Regions from separate parts of the Homo sapiens genome. Here region 1 is linked to region 2. Evidence: promoter capture Hi-C in 16 types of primary human blood cells and fetal thymus (Javierre and others, 2016). All regions are on one chromosome and are shown on one strand. The core of a region is centred on a gene start or on the middle of the fragment in contact, and the rest is flanking DNA. Distances in the headings are between cores, read along the strand shown. Region 1 has its middle 26 kb from the start of APLN. Region 2 holds the start of AIFM1 (apoptosis inducing factor mitochondria associated 1).

Evidence for each region. Contacts are between HindIII fragments. The CHiCAGO score rates a contact against its expected background, and 5 or more counts as called.
Region 1: a contact is called between a fragment that was not itself captured here and the fragment with the promoter of AIFM1 in region 2, in 4 of 17 cell types (total CD4 T cells, neutrophils, total B cells and 1 more). The highest score is 7.1, in total CD4 T cells.

What each region holds. Positions count from the first base shown.
Region 1 is chrX:129,625,790-129,632,824 of GRCh38, forward strand. No RefSeq gene overlaps it. Among named protein-coding and RNA genes, the nearest start is that of APLN, 26 kb to the right of the region's middle. The HindIII fragment of the contact is 4,202 bases long and covers 3,019-7,035 here.
Region 2 is chrX:130,163,050-130,170,106 of GRCh38, forward strand. It overlaps AIFM1 (apoptosis inducing factor mitochondria associated 1), which reads right to left and starts at 2,792. Exons shown (of 16, transcript NM_004208.4): 1 at 2,502-2,792. The coding sequence starts at 2,607. It also overlaps a transcript of RAB33A not described here. RefSeq lists an enhancer at 2,441-2,780. The HindIII fragment of the contact is 8,785 bases long and covers 1-6,689 here.

The DNA.
Region 1 (7,035 bases), core at 3,870-6,369, 530 kb before region 2:
AATCAAACTTAAGAAATACTCTTCTGGCCATTGGCCAAGGTAAATAATTTATAACTAAGTCCTCAAAAGCAAATGCAACAAAACCAAAAATTGACAAGTAGGACCTGATTAAACTAAACAGCTTCTACACATCAAAAGAAGCCATCAACAGAGTAAACAGACAACCCACAGAATGGGAGAAAATAGAGGCAAACTATGCAAACAACAAAGGACTAATTAATATCTGGAATCTATTAGGAACTTAAACTCATCAACAAGGAAAAAAACAAACAACCCCATTAAAAACTAGACAAAGGACATAAACAGACACTTCTCAAAAGAAGACATATGAGTGGCCAACAAACATATGAAAAAATGCTCAACATCGCTAATCAGAGAAATGCAAATCAAAACCACAATGAGATACCATCTCACACCAGTCAGACTGGTTCCTATTAAAAAGTCAAAAATAACAGATGTTGGCGAGGTTGCAGAGAGAAAAAAAACACTCATACACTGTTGGTGGGATTGTAAATTAGCTCAGCTCCTGTAGAAAGAAGTTTGGAGATTTCTCAAATAACTGAAAATAGAATTACAACTTGACCCAGCAATCCCATTACTGGGTATGTATCCAAAAGAAAATAAATCGTTCTACCAAAAAGACACATGCACTCGCATGTTCATCGCAGCACTGTTCACAACAGCAAAGACATGGAATCACATCAGCCTTGGTGCCCATCAGTGTGACTGGACAAAGAAAATGTGGTATATGTACACCATAGAGTACTATGTAGCCATAAAATAAATGAAATTGTGTCCTTTGCAGCAACATGGATGCAGCTAGAGGCCATTATCCTGAGTGAATTAACACAAACAGAAAACCGAATACCACATGTTCTCACTTATAAACAGCAGCTAAATATTGGGTAAACACAGATATAAGGATGGGAGCAATAGACACTGGGGACTCCAAAAGGTGGGAGGGAAGGAGGAGGGCAAGGGTTGAAAAACTACCTACCAGGTGCTATGTTCACCGTTTGGGTGATGGAATCAATAGAAGCCCAAACTTCAGCATCACACAATATATCCATGTAACAAATCTGCACATATATCCCCTGAATCTAATGTTTTCTAAAAAAAGGTTTCTGCCTCAGCCACATGGGAATTGTCATGTACTGCCATTTACTTCAAAGGGACCAGGTATGCAGGAGGAGAGGATCAGGCAATCAGTGCTGGTCACATTATGTTTGAGAAGCCTATTGGACATCCAAAGGGAGATGATGGATAGGCAGTTTAGTACATGAGTCTGGAGCTCAAGGGAGATGCCTATAACTTTCCTATTTTGTTGTTGTTATTGTTTGTTTGTTTGTTTTGTTTTGAGACAGAGTCTCGCTCTGTTGCCAGACTGGAGTGCAGTACCACAATCTCAGCTCACTGCAATCTCCGCCTCCTGGGTAAGTGATTCTCCAGCCTCAGCCTCCCGAGTAGCTGGGACTACAGGGGTGCGCCACCACACCCAGCTAATTTTTGTAATTTTCTTAGAGGTGGGGTTTCACCATGTTGGCCAGGATGGTCTCGATCTCTTGACCTCGTGATCTGCCCACCTCGGCCTCCCAAAGTGCTGGGATTACAGGCGTGAGCCACCACGCCCAGCTCCTGTGTGTTTTTTATACTTGTCCAGTGCATTGTATCTATAAACAATTTACAGGATTGCTTTATGAGTGTTCGAACTTTCCATCAATGACTTCCTGTACGTATCATTTTGCAACTTGCTGTTTTTGCTCAACATCAAGTTTTTGAGATTTTTCACATTGAAACATCTAGCTCTTTCCATTTAACTCCATAGTATTCCATTATATAAATATGTCCCAATTTACGTACTTACTGCCCTATTATCAGGATAATTGGGGTTGTTTGGATTTCCGAATGCTTCTTTATACTCCACAGAGTGTGATATAACGCTTTGTGGTGCTGGGCACACAGATAGTAAATGATTGAGTATTTCTGTTCACCTGCATCTGTGTGCCTGGGATCATTAATTCCCAGGCAACAGGGAACACATCATATCTGTTGATTTCACAAGGACTTATTTACTAAGCTAGGACCAGCTAGATTTCTCCCCGGTGATATTTGGTTAGCTGTGTTGTCCAAGGTGCTGGAAAGTAACAGCAATAGGGCAGGTGCCATGGCTCACACCTGTAATTCCAGTACTTTGGGAAGCTGAGGTGGGCGGATCACATGAGGTCAGGAGTTCAAGACCAGCCCGGCCATGGCAAAACCCCATCTCTGCTAAAAATACAAAAATTAGCCAGGTGTGGTGGCGCACACCTGTAGTCCCAGCTACTCGGGAGGCTGAGGTGGAAGAATCGTTTGATCCCAGGAGGCGGAGGTTACAGTGAGCTGAGATTACATCACTGCACTCCAGCCTGGGCTACACAGCGAGACTCTGTCAAAAAAAAAAAAAGAAAGAAAGAAAGAAAGAAACAGCAATGGTTTTTACTTTGCTAATTATCGCAGACCTTAGTGGCTTAAAACAGTGAGTTTATTATTTCACAGTTTCTGTGGGTCAGGGATCTGAGTACAGCTTAGCTGGACCCTCCGCCTCGGGCCCCCTCACAACCTGCAGTCAAGGTGTTGGCCAGGGCTGCAGTCACCTCAATGCTCAACAGGGGAAGAATCCATTTCCAAGCTCACTCACATGGCTGTCAACAGGAGCCTTCAGGTGCTCACTGGCTATCAGACCAGAGCCACAGTTTCTTGCTGGCTATTGGCTGGCTCAGTTCCTTGCAACACAGAACTCTCCAGAGGACAGTTCACAACATGGCAGCTGGCTTCCTCAGAGCAAGCGAGTGAGAGATGGTGAGTGTGTGAGAAAGGCAGGAGTCAGTCTCACAATTTAATCTTGGAAATGGCAGCCCATCATCTTTGCCATATTCTATTTGTTAGAAGCGAGTCACTTAGTCCAGCCCATATGCAAGGGGACGGGGTTAGACAAAGGCAGGAATACCAGGATGGGGGATTACTGGGGACTATCAGAGAAGCTTCCAAGCATGGAAACCAAAGGACTGAGGTGGGGGCAGGATTGATTGGCTGAAATGCCTGCAGAGACCTTGAGGAGGATGAAGAGTGAGGAGGGGCATAGAGTGAAAGCCAGAGAGCAGGAGTAGGAGGATGGAAAACGTCTGGTGTAGACCATTTGTCTCAGAACTTTGGTGGGGAAGGTAAAGTGTAAGAAATGTCAGTGGAGGGACAGGGGATCTCTGAGCACATTTGAGGGCCAAGGGGAAGAAGCCAATGCAAATGGTGGAGGGGAAGGGGAAATGTGGACGCCAGGCTCCTAGGAGAAGAGGAAGGGCATCTTGTCACCTACCCCTGAACATTTCTACAGTGCTCTGTAGGTAAAAAAGTACTTTTCCATAAACAGTTTACCCTTGAACAATGTGGGTTTGAGGTGCACTGGTCCACTTATTTGTGGATTTCTTTTTTCAACCAAACACACACTGAAAATAGAGTATTCGCATATTGTGAAACCTGTGTACATGGAGGGGTGACTTTTTGTGTATGTGTCTCAAAGGGCTGACTGTGGGACTTGAGTATACATGGATCTTGGTATATGCGGGGTCCTGGAGCTAAACCCCCGTGGATACCAAAGGATGACTATACAGGCTTGCTTGAGCCTCCTATCAATCCAGTGAGGTTAGCAGAACAGGGATCGCTTTGTCCCTATTTTAGATGAAGAAACAGATGCAGAGAGGTGACATGGTTTTTCCTAGGTCATATAGGCAATAAACGGCCAAGCCAGGACTAGAATTCAGGTATCCAATCTCTAAGTGTTTCTAGTCTAGTGCTGGCTTCTCATTAGGCCTCAGCACTTTCAGCATGCTGCTCCTCTGCTCAAGTCCTCTCCCTTGTGTCTGTAAGGTCGAGAACTCTCTTCCCCCACAGGGAACTGAATGAGTTTCCAGTTCAAGCAGGCCAGGCAATGGCTGGAAATGAGTGAGAATTCCTTGACTATCAATCAAGGGGCTGTAACCCAAATTAAGGTTGAAGTTGTGAGAGTGGTGTGGGGAAGCCCCTGCATAGTGGGCTGGTAAGATGCACGCCACGGGTCAGTGGGACTCTAGGCCCAGTGAGGGAGTGTTGTGGGGAGCATCCACGTGGGCCAAGTAAGGGCCGGCATGGAAGACAGGCGGGCTGGGAGCCTGGCTCTCACTGCGAATGAGCTGTCCCCATTATTTCCTCTTCCAGCCACTCAGTCCCGCTGGCTCTCCAAGCAGCTGACAAGCCCAGTAAAAGAGTTTCCATCCAGGCCTGGAAGGCCCCAGTGAGAGCTGGGGAGCTGCTTTTATCCAGCCTTGGCAAGGCCTTTCAGCTGGAGTCCAGCCCACTTTGGGCAACATTTGGAAACTTACTGAGGAAATGGAGGTCTCCTTTTTAGGAATCCTGCCCCACCCCTGCTCCCACCATGGGCCTTAGTTTTTCCCCAGGAAACCTGGAGCACCTTGAGACTGGAGACTGTGTCTACCCCAGCAGGCAGGAAACCAGGGGCTCAAACTTCCAAGCCCTGCCCTTTGTGAGCTCCTAGGATACACACAATTCATTCTGACCCTGGGACAAGGAGCCAGTGAACCAGTCATCTATAACAACCTGAGCTACACAGGGCCCCAGAGAAACCTTCCAGACCCTCATTTACCAGCTAAAGAAATTGAGGTACAGAATGGGGAGGGATTTGGTCCAGGATCACAGAGCCACTGAGTGGCAGAATGGGAGGGCCATAGTTTGGAGGAGACTCGATGCTCAAGAAAAAGGGACTGTCAAACAGTTAAGGTAGGAGTTCCTCTAAGCAGAGTTTAGAGAATCGATCCAAGAAACACTTGAAGCGTGCGAGTGGCATAGACTAGGTGCTCAACAAACGCAGCATAAATAAATAAATGAAACTGATTGTTGCTGCAGGGGAGCTGGGACGGACTAGGCCACGAGAATAAAAAACTCTGCCCTGGTCTGGGTCCTGCTGGGTCCAGATCAGTGACACTAGAATAGCCAGCCTGGGCTTTTTTCCCATGGGAAAGTAGGACAACTCTGACCAGAAACTGGGGTAATGGCAATGAGCGGAGGGAGTAGATTAAAGGGAGAGATGCCCCACCCTTACTTGGGATAAAGAGCTCCCCTCTTGCTTCCCCCTTCATTTTTACTGATTGCTTACTTGGTGCCAAGCATTATCAGAAACACACACACACACACACACACACACACACACACACACACACACACACATAGCATTAACACACATGGTCCCTATGAGGCAGGCACTATCATTGCCTCCATCTTATAGATAAGGAAACTGGCCCCGAGAAGTTCAGTGCCTTGCCCTTAGTCTCCCAGCTGATAAGAAGTAAAGCTGGGATCTGAACTCAGGCCATCTGACTTCAATACCTATGCTTCTAACCACTAGGTTATACTGCCATTTCGCTGAGCAAGGCAGCTTGTAGTGGAGCTGATGCCCCTGCGGATTGAAGGCCCACTCATTCACACACTCACAGCCACCCCTGCTTGGAGGTGGCATAGCAGGGAACAAGTTGGAGTTGCCAGAGGCCCCAAGGTCTCCACCCTACCTCTATCTTGGAGCTTAAAGTATCTCGCTCCTGGCCTCTTTTAGGAATGGTAGGGCCATTAGCCCAATGAAGGCTTTGCCATGAGTTTCTCAGACCTTTGCAGGGATAGCAGGGCCCTAAGGAGACTGAACCAGGGTGGAAAAATCTGAATAGGAGTGGAAGAGGAGGGTACAGGGCAGCCCATTATTATCTCTGGTCATTTAACACTTCTTAAACACCTACTATGTGCCTGTACAGGGGGCTGGAACTACAGCAATGGACCAGAGACCTGTCCCTGCAATTAGAGAGCTCACAGTCTAGAGGGGGAGAGCAACTAGCAAACAGACTACAGAGAGGGAAACTGAGGCCCAGAGAGGTCAAAGGCCTTGCCCAGGAATACTCAGTGGGTGAGTCACAGAGCTGGGCCCAGAGTCAGTGCTCAGACTCCCAATCCAGCATGATCCCTGCTACAGCAAAAGCAAGCAAATGCAAACAAGCTCAGATGAAAGAGGGGTGTTATGAACTAAGGAGAGGCATGAGGCAGGCAGGGTTAGGCAGAAGGGCTATCTTACTGGAGGTGGAGTTCAAAGGAGGGTGCTACAGTCTGAATGTGTCCCCCAAAATTCATGTGTCGAAACGTAAAGCGAATATGACAGTATTAAGAGGCAGGGACTTTCGGAGGTGAGTCATGAGGGTGGAGCATTCATGGATGGGATTAGGGCCCTTATAAAAGGGCTTGAAGGAGTTGGTTTGTTGGCTTCTCCTCTTCTGCCATGCGAGGACACAGCATTCCTTCCCTTTTGCTCTTCTGTCCTTTCCACCACCTGAGGACACAAGTGTTCCTCCCTTCCAGAGGATGCAGCAACAAGGTGCCATCTTGGATGCAGAGAGCTGCCCTCAACAGACAACTGAACCTGCCAGCAGCTTGATCTTGGACTTCCCGGCCTGCAGAACTGTGAGAAAGAGATTTCCAGTTATAAGTGACTTAGTCTCAGGTATGTTGTTATAGCAGCACAAACAGACTAAGACAGGGGAAGGATGCCCTGGTGGAGGGGTGCGACTGGAGAAAGCTCAGTGCTCAGTGAGCCCCAGTGAAGTCCCAGGAAAGCCACTGGCAGCAGCCCACACGCTTGGGCGGTTCCTGGACAGCCAAAGGAGGAACCACACCCACCAGGCCCACCAGCCTTGGACGTGGCCCAGCAAGGCCAAGCGTTTAGTAATTGGCGAAGTGACTGTCTGCTGCCGCCCCAGTCCAAATGAATAATTATGGAATGTTTACATGATGTGGTGTTCCTGACACCTTCTCAAGTTTCCATGGCAACTAGGAACCACCGCCCCACCCACCCCCAACCCAACCCACAAGATGTTCTGTCTGTTGTGGCCAGCAGCTGTGTCATGTTGTGAATAAATAACACATGCCTGGCCTTGGAGACTGGAGTTACCCTACAGTCATCCCTGACAGGGC
Region 2 (7,057 bases), core at 1,542-4,041:
GTTTAAAGTTTAAAGGTTTGGGAGGCTGAAGCAGGTGGATCACAAGGTCAGGAGTTTGAGACCAGCCTGGCCAGCATGGTGAAACCCCGTCTCTACTAAAAATACAAAAAATTAGCCCGGCGTGGTGGTGCATGCCTGTAGTCCCAGCTACTTGGGAGGCTGACGCAGGAGAATTGCTTGAACCCAGCAGGCAGAGGTTGCAGTGAGCCAAGATCGTGCCACTGCACTCTGGGAAACTGAGCGAGACTCCGCCTCAAAAAAAAAAAAAAAAAAAAGTTTAAAGGTAAGGTGGAGGGAGAAATGGTGTATAAACGAACCTTGCTCTTTCCCACCTGTGCAAAAACACACGGTAGATGCTACTACATGAAAAAGAAATCAGATTAAAAGCAGTTAGGAATCAAGCCACAAAACAGAGTTAATTCCTAAAATGAGAGTATCAGAACTTCTTTTTGAAAATTTAACACTACCCTCACCCATTTTTAAAGGCAGATGATGTCATACTTTGGTGCACGGCCAAAGGACAAAGAACAAGTGTATGCAAAGAGATGGATGGATATGTCAGGAAGTCCGAATATATTCTACAGTAGACTGCCTTCAAACAAAGACATGCAGTGGAAAAAACCATTTGAGTCTGTATTTTTCAGTAGTTCTAACAACACCAACCACTTTCCAATGTCTAATAAATCAACTTAACTTTGCAAATGCATATTTAATTGATGAGAACTTTTGGTCAGACTTTAGAATGCTGGTAAAAGTTGTGAGACTTAAGCAAAACAACTACTCAAAGTTTGAAAGGCCAGTGTGGATGAAAAAATTCAGGTTATCGCCGGGCGCGGTGGCTCACGCCTGTAATCCCAGCGCTTTGGGAGGCCGAGGTGGGCGGATCACGAGGTCAGGAGATCGAGACCATCCTGGTTAACATGGTGAAACCTTGTCTCTACTAAAAATACAAAAAAAAAAAAAAAAAAATTAGCCGGGCGTGGTGGCGGGTGCCTGTAGTCCCAGCTACTCTGGAGGCTGAGGCAGAAGAATGGCGTGAATCCGGGAGGCGGAGATTGCAGTGAGCCGAGATCGCGCCACTGCACTCCAGCCTGGGCGACAAAGCGAGACTCCGTCTCAAAAAAAAAAAAAAAAAAAATTCAGGTTATCTCAATTTCTGTGCAACAAGCACAGAGCACCATCATTTCAATACACAAAACCCTCAAAGATGACATCCATTGATAAGGCATTAGTTTAAAAGCTAAGCAGAGGTTTTAAGTTCCAAGAGCAGTATGTCCCAGGACATAACTCAAATACACCTATCAGGAAACATTTTCATTGTGCATAGCAACTGGAAAAACTGTTCAAATGCACATTTGCAAAGACCCTAACAACCCAAGGAAAATATTTTCCACTTTTTATTTTTAAAGCACCCAGGTGTTTCTGTATTGTAAAAGCCTCAAGGATAACTTCTGACATTGCAAATGCCCTAGGGGTGGACATTGAAGGATTACTGATTTTTTTTTCAAAGCAACTCCTACAGGTGGATCATTCATTGCCCCCATGAAGTAACGCAGTACGAAAAGAAGCAGGCTCAAGCCATGCTCAGATAAATTCACGGATATCTGATGTACAATGGGCTAATTACTGGGAAGAGACCCGAATTCATTCTTAACTTTTTGAGGTCAACTTTAGGAAGCAGTATGGAGTTGCAGCGAAGGGATTAAGGACCTGGAGGCTAGCAAACTATCCTTAGCTCTACCTATTAATTAACTATGTGACCTTTGGCAAGTAATTTCACCTCTCTGTGCCTCAGTTTATTATCTATAAAATGAGTGGGTTGACCTTTACCACAAAATCCCTTCCAGCTCTAAAATTTGATGAAACAACTTAATGGAGAACAAAATACAATGCGTTCTGCAAACTGTTTCTTTGAAGCCTTAAAGACCACCAAGAAGTACACGGCTCAGGCATCTCCAATTAAGTCTGGGCCAATTCTCTGGGTGTCTGGTACACAACCAACCGACTCCTTACTTGCCCTGCACCGTTTCTGTTTCACTGGGCATTCAAATCCATGGATCTCATCTGTGGTTTGGAAGGCTGAGCAGATAACACCCTCATTTACACAAGAAACTTAGGCGTAGGGCTTAAACGTCCTGTTTAAAGTCTCAATCGGTAAATGACAAAGTCTACTTGACCTCATTGCTCTAAAAAGGGGGGTGGGGGGTGGGGATGCCGGGGAGGCGCCGACAGCCAGTTGTTCTGGGATCCCTGAACAGCAAACGCTCCCGGGAAAAGGCCTCAAGCCGACTACTGGGTTCAAATCTCTTGAAGGTCAGGTCGGCATGGCTGAGCCAATTCCTCCGCTTGCAAGACTCAGGGTTCGGAGTCTGCCAATTTGGAATTCACGTGACTATGTGTTAAGTTTCTCGCGGGGACGCGGGGGTAGAGGGCTGCAAGGCACAGGGAGCCTAAGGCGCCAGGCCCTCGGACTTGGAGGTTGCCTGGAATGGGTCAGTCACCTGGGAGCCGGTTCCTCTGCCTCGGGCTTCGGACGCACACGGTCCGCACCAAGGGCACCAGCTTCTGCTTCAAAGCACCCGCCGCCAGGCCTCCACACCGGAACATTTCGGCGACCGCTATTCGGGACCTCCTCCTTCCCTTTCCTCTCACGCACGACCGACGGGTCAAACACCGTGAGCCCCGGCCAGCTCCCCCAGTCTCTTCACACGCACATTACGCAGACTCCTCCTCCCAGCTCCGGGTGGGCATTGGACAGAGAAGCCGGCCTGCTAGAGCCGGGGAAGGGGAACGGCGACCGGAGGCCTACTGCGCAGGCGTAGCACTCGCTGCCGCATTGCGATTGGTCCGCACGGCGAGAGGATTTGCGCATGCACTAGCTGGCCGCAAGCTCGCAAAGACGCTGGCTCTAGGTAGCCGGTTTTCGCGAGTTTGTGGCACAGTGTTGGACTGAACGAGTTAAGGAACCTGTTCAAGGAGGGACTCGTGGGGCCGCTTTGATTGGCGGTTGTGCCTGGTGCTGCCGCTGTGTTGGTGACGAGAACTGATAACAGCATCTCACAACAGCGTAGCCCCGGCATCGCACTTTGTTTTTTGGTTTTAGGACACCAGTTACTTGATACCGAAGCCTTCCTGATTCTTTTGCAGTGATCCAGATCCAGTTTTTCCATGAGTCCGAGGCGCGGAACCTGGCTTCCCAGATCCGGCGTGTACTTCCATCTTTTACCAGTTGCCGGCTCTTTCCCACCCAACCCGTTTCCTGGACAAGTAATTCTGCGCTCTTCTTCCCGCCTGTCACCTTTATTTATTAGTTCAGTTGTGTGTCCTAGATGCTGTATACCAGGTGCTACAGATACACACAGTCTCCTGCTGTGGTTTCTGTGCTTGGGAGCAGGATGTTAGCAAAAAGCGTTCGTGCTTCTCGGACTTTCTGGGAAGAGAAGTCTGCTAAGCAGAACTTTCAGTTATGGGAGTAGGGTGAGGGGCTGAGTGTAAATAAGTGTTTTGACTCTGCCAGATATAAGCTAAATTGGAAATAATGTTTTGGCTGCATGCAGAACATACAATGTGCCTGTTTCAAAGATTCAGCTTACATATTCATTTAACAAGTATTTATTGAGCACTTACCTCTTGGATTGTACTATAAAAGGGGCTCTGTTGGGTATGAAAAGTACGGATGGTCCCCGACTTACCCCTCACAATGGTTCGACTTACAATTTTTCGACTTTATGATGGGTTTAATGAGACCTAACCCCATGTCAGTCGAGGAGCATCTGGACTTAAGCATGGTTCAACTTACGGTTTTTTGACTTTATGATGGGTTTATCAGGGTATTAAATGCAGTTTCGACTTAACGATATTTTCAGTTTACAATGGGTTTATTTGGACATAGCATCTATATAGGAAGTGGCCACTGTCTAGTTGGGGAGATGACATATACCGGTCATTGAAATAATATCTGGTGTAGTGCCGGACAGAGCAAGAGAGAAGACTATGGGATGGAATCACTATGGTAGAACTTCGTGTAAGAAGTTATTTGAGTTGTGTCTTGAAGGATGAGTAGTAAAATTCAAACAGTAGAGGAAAAGGATTGATATTTCAGATGGTGAATACTTTCGGACCAAAGATAACATTTTTCATTGTTAAACATGTTGACCTTGGATCCAGACCAACCCACATTGAATCCTGGCTCTGCCACCTGGGCAAGTCACTTAATTGTGCCTCATTTTCCTCATCTACAAATCTCAGGAGGGTGTTCGGAAGACTAAATGAGCTAATATTTGTAAAGTGTCTTAGAGGAAGCACCATGCTGTTTGTTAAATGAAAAGGCTTGGAACTGTTTTAAAAAACCAAAACCCAGCACATTTTCGGGGGACAATGATAGAGAGTACATACTAAGAAGTATTGATGTGGTCAGGCTCCGTGGCTCATGCCTGTAATCCCAGCACTTTGGGAGGCCTAGGCGGGTGAATCACTTTAGGTCAGGAGTTTAAGACCAGTCTGGCCAACATGGTGAAACCCCGTCTCTACAAAAAATCCAAAAATTAGCCGGGCGCCATGGCATGCGCCTGTAATCCCAGCTACTAGGGAGACTGAGGCAGGAGACTCGCTTGAACCTGCCAGGTGGAGGCTGCAGTGAGCCAAGATTGTGCCACTGCACTCCAGCCTGGATGATGGAGCAAGACTCTGTCTCCAAAAAGAAAAAAATAAAGAAGTAGTGATAAAGACAGGCAAGTATGGTGGGGGGCCAGATTTGAACTGGCAAGAGTTGGGCCCTAACTTTGGAGGTAATGAAGTTACTTTTTTTTTTTTTTTGGTGGAATGGGGATAGAGAATGAAATTACAGGGCCGGGTGCAGTGGCTCATGCCTGTAATGCCAGTACTTTGGGAGGACGAGTGGGAAGATTGCTTGAGGCCAGGAGTTCCAGACCAGCCTGAGCACATAATGAGACATCATCTCTACCATTTTTTTTTTAAATTAGCCAGGCGTGGTGGTATGTGCCTGTGGTTCCAGCTACTCAGGAGGCTGAGATGGGAGGATCACTTGAGCCTAGGAGATCGAGACTGCAGTGAGCAGTGATTGCTCCCGTGCACTCCAGCCTGGATGACAGAGCGAGACCCTATTTCAAAAAAGAAAAAGAAAGAAATTACAAAGATACTCTTTTTTTTTTTTTTTTTTTCTTGAGACGGAGTCTCCCTTTGTCACCCAGGCTGGAGTGCAGTGGCAGTATCTCGGCTCACTGCAACTTCTGCCTCCCAGGTTCAAGCAATTCTCCTGCCTCAGCCTCCCGAGTAGCTGGGATTACAGGCAGATGCCACCGCGCCCTGCTAATTTTTCTATTTTTAGTAGAGACGGGGTTCCACAATGTTGTCCAGGCTGGTCTTGAACTCCTGATCTCAGGTGATCGCCCGCCTCGGCCTCCCAAAGTGCTTGGATTACAGGCATGAGCCACCTCGCCCGGCCTACAAAGACACCCTTCTGTGAAGTTTAACCCAGGAAGTAGTTTTGTTTTTTGGTTTTCTTTAAGAGACAGTCTCATTACGTTGCCCAGGCTGGTCTTGAACTCCTGGGCTCAAGCAATCCTGCTGCCTCAGCCTCTCAAAGTGTTGGGATTACACGTGTGAGCCACTGTGCCAGGCCTAGGAAGTAGTCATTATGTGGTGAAGATGATCCAGGGCTCCCTTACCCATTAAGCAGAGTAGATCAGTGTTCAGAAGTGCAGGCAATGGGTGACATTTTATCTAGAGCTCCTTTGGATAAATATTGAAAATATGGTCAGGCTCTGTGGCTCATGCCTGTAATCCCAGCACTTTGGGAGGCCGAGGAGGGTGGATCACTTTAGGCCAGGGGATAAATATTGAAAGTATCAATTCCAGGCCGGGCACGGTGGCTCATGCCTGTAATCTCAGCACTTTGGGAGGCCAAGGCGGGCGGATCACGAGGTCCGGAGATCGAGACCAGCCTGGCTAACACAGTGAAACCCCGTCTCTACTAAAAATACAAAAAAATTAGCCAGGCGTGGTGGCGGGCGCCTGTAGTCCCAGCTACTTGGGAGGCTGAGGCAGGAGAATGGCGTGAACCTGGGAGGCGGAGCTTGCAGTGAGCCGAGATTGTGTCACTGCACTCCAGCCCGGGTGACAGAGCGAGACTCCATCTCAAAAAAAAAAAAAAAAAGTATCAATTCCAAAGTAAGGTAAAAATTATTTATATTTACTTAACATTTTAACAGCCTTGCATTGATTTTTATTGATATTTGTAAAAACCAATAATCATGGATTGATTAAATACAAAGTTAATTATATCTGATGGCAAAAGAGACTGGAAAACACTGTCAAAATCATGATAATCAGGTACCTATGAAAACAACTGCATGTATTTGAAAGTAATTTAATAATGCACAATTAACACAAAGGGCATTGTACAGTACATTTAATTTTTTTACAATAGGTACAATAAGGTAGTTTTCCTGTCCTTTTAATTAAAAATTATATTTTTATCTTTTTTCAAAAGCAATATATACTCATTGAATTAATTCCAAAAAATATAAGTGGAAATCCCCCAAAGTCTCACCCCACAGAAGTAACAGACACCTTTTATTAGGGCAAGAAGCCCATTTTGAGATATCATATTTTCAGAAATCAAAGTTTCTTCCTTACAAAAGTAGACTCAGTGACAAGTTTTTGCTAGAAGCTTACATTGAAATAATCTTATTATGTACATATGTTTTTTTAATATCTCTCAGGAAGTTAGCATTAATTCTAGCTGTGAATTGGCAAAGGGCAAAGCCCCTTTCTACTTTGTGTACAGGATGTACCTAATTAATAGTTACCCCTCTCCACCTTAAAGCTATTCTGTAGATAAAGATCATCAGGGGCATTAACTTCCAATACAGAGGGGAACGATCCAGCAAACTAGGCATCAGACTAATCAAAACCAAAAATACTGTACAATGATGATTGATACATAATACAATGAAAATTGGTATTCATAAGGATGATTTTGGATTAGCCAACTAAGAGGAAATCCTTATCTGGGTAGTTTTAATGCTGAGTAGTA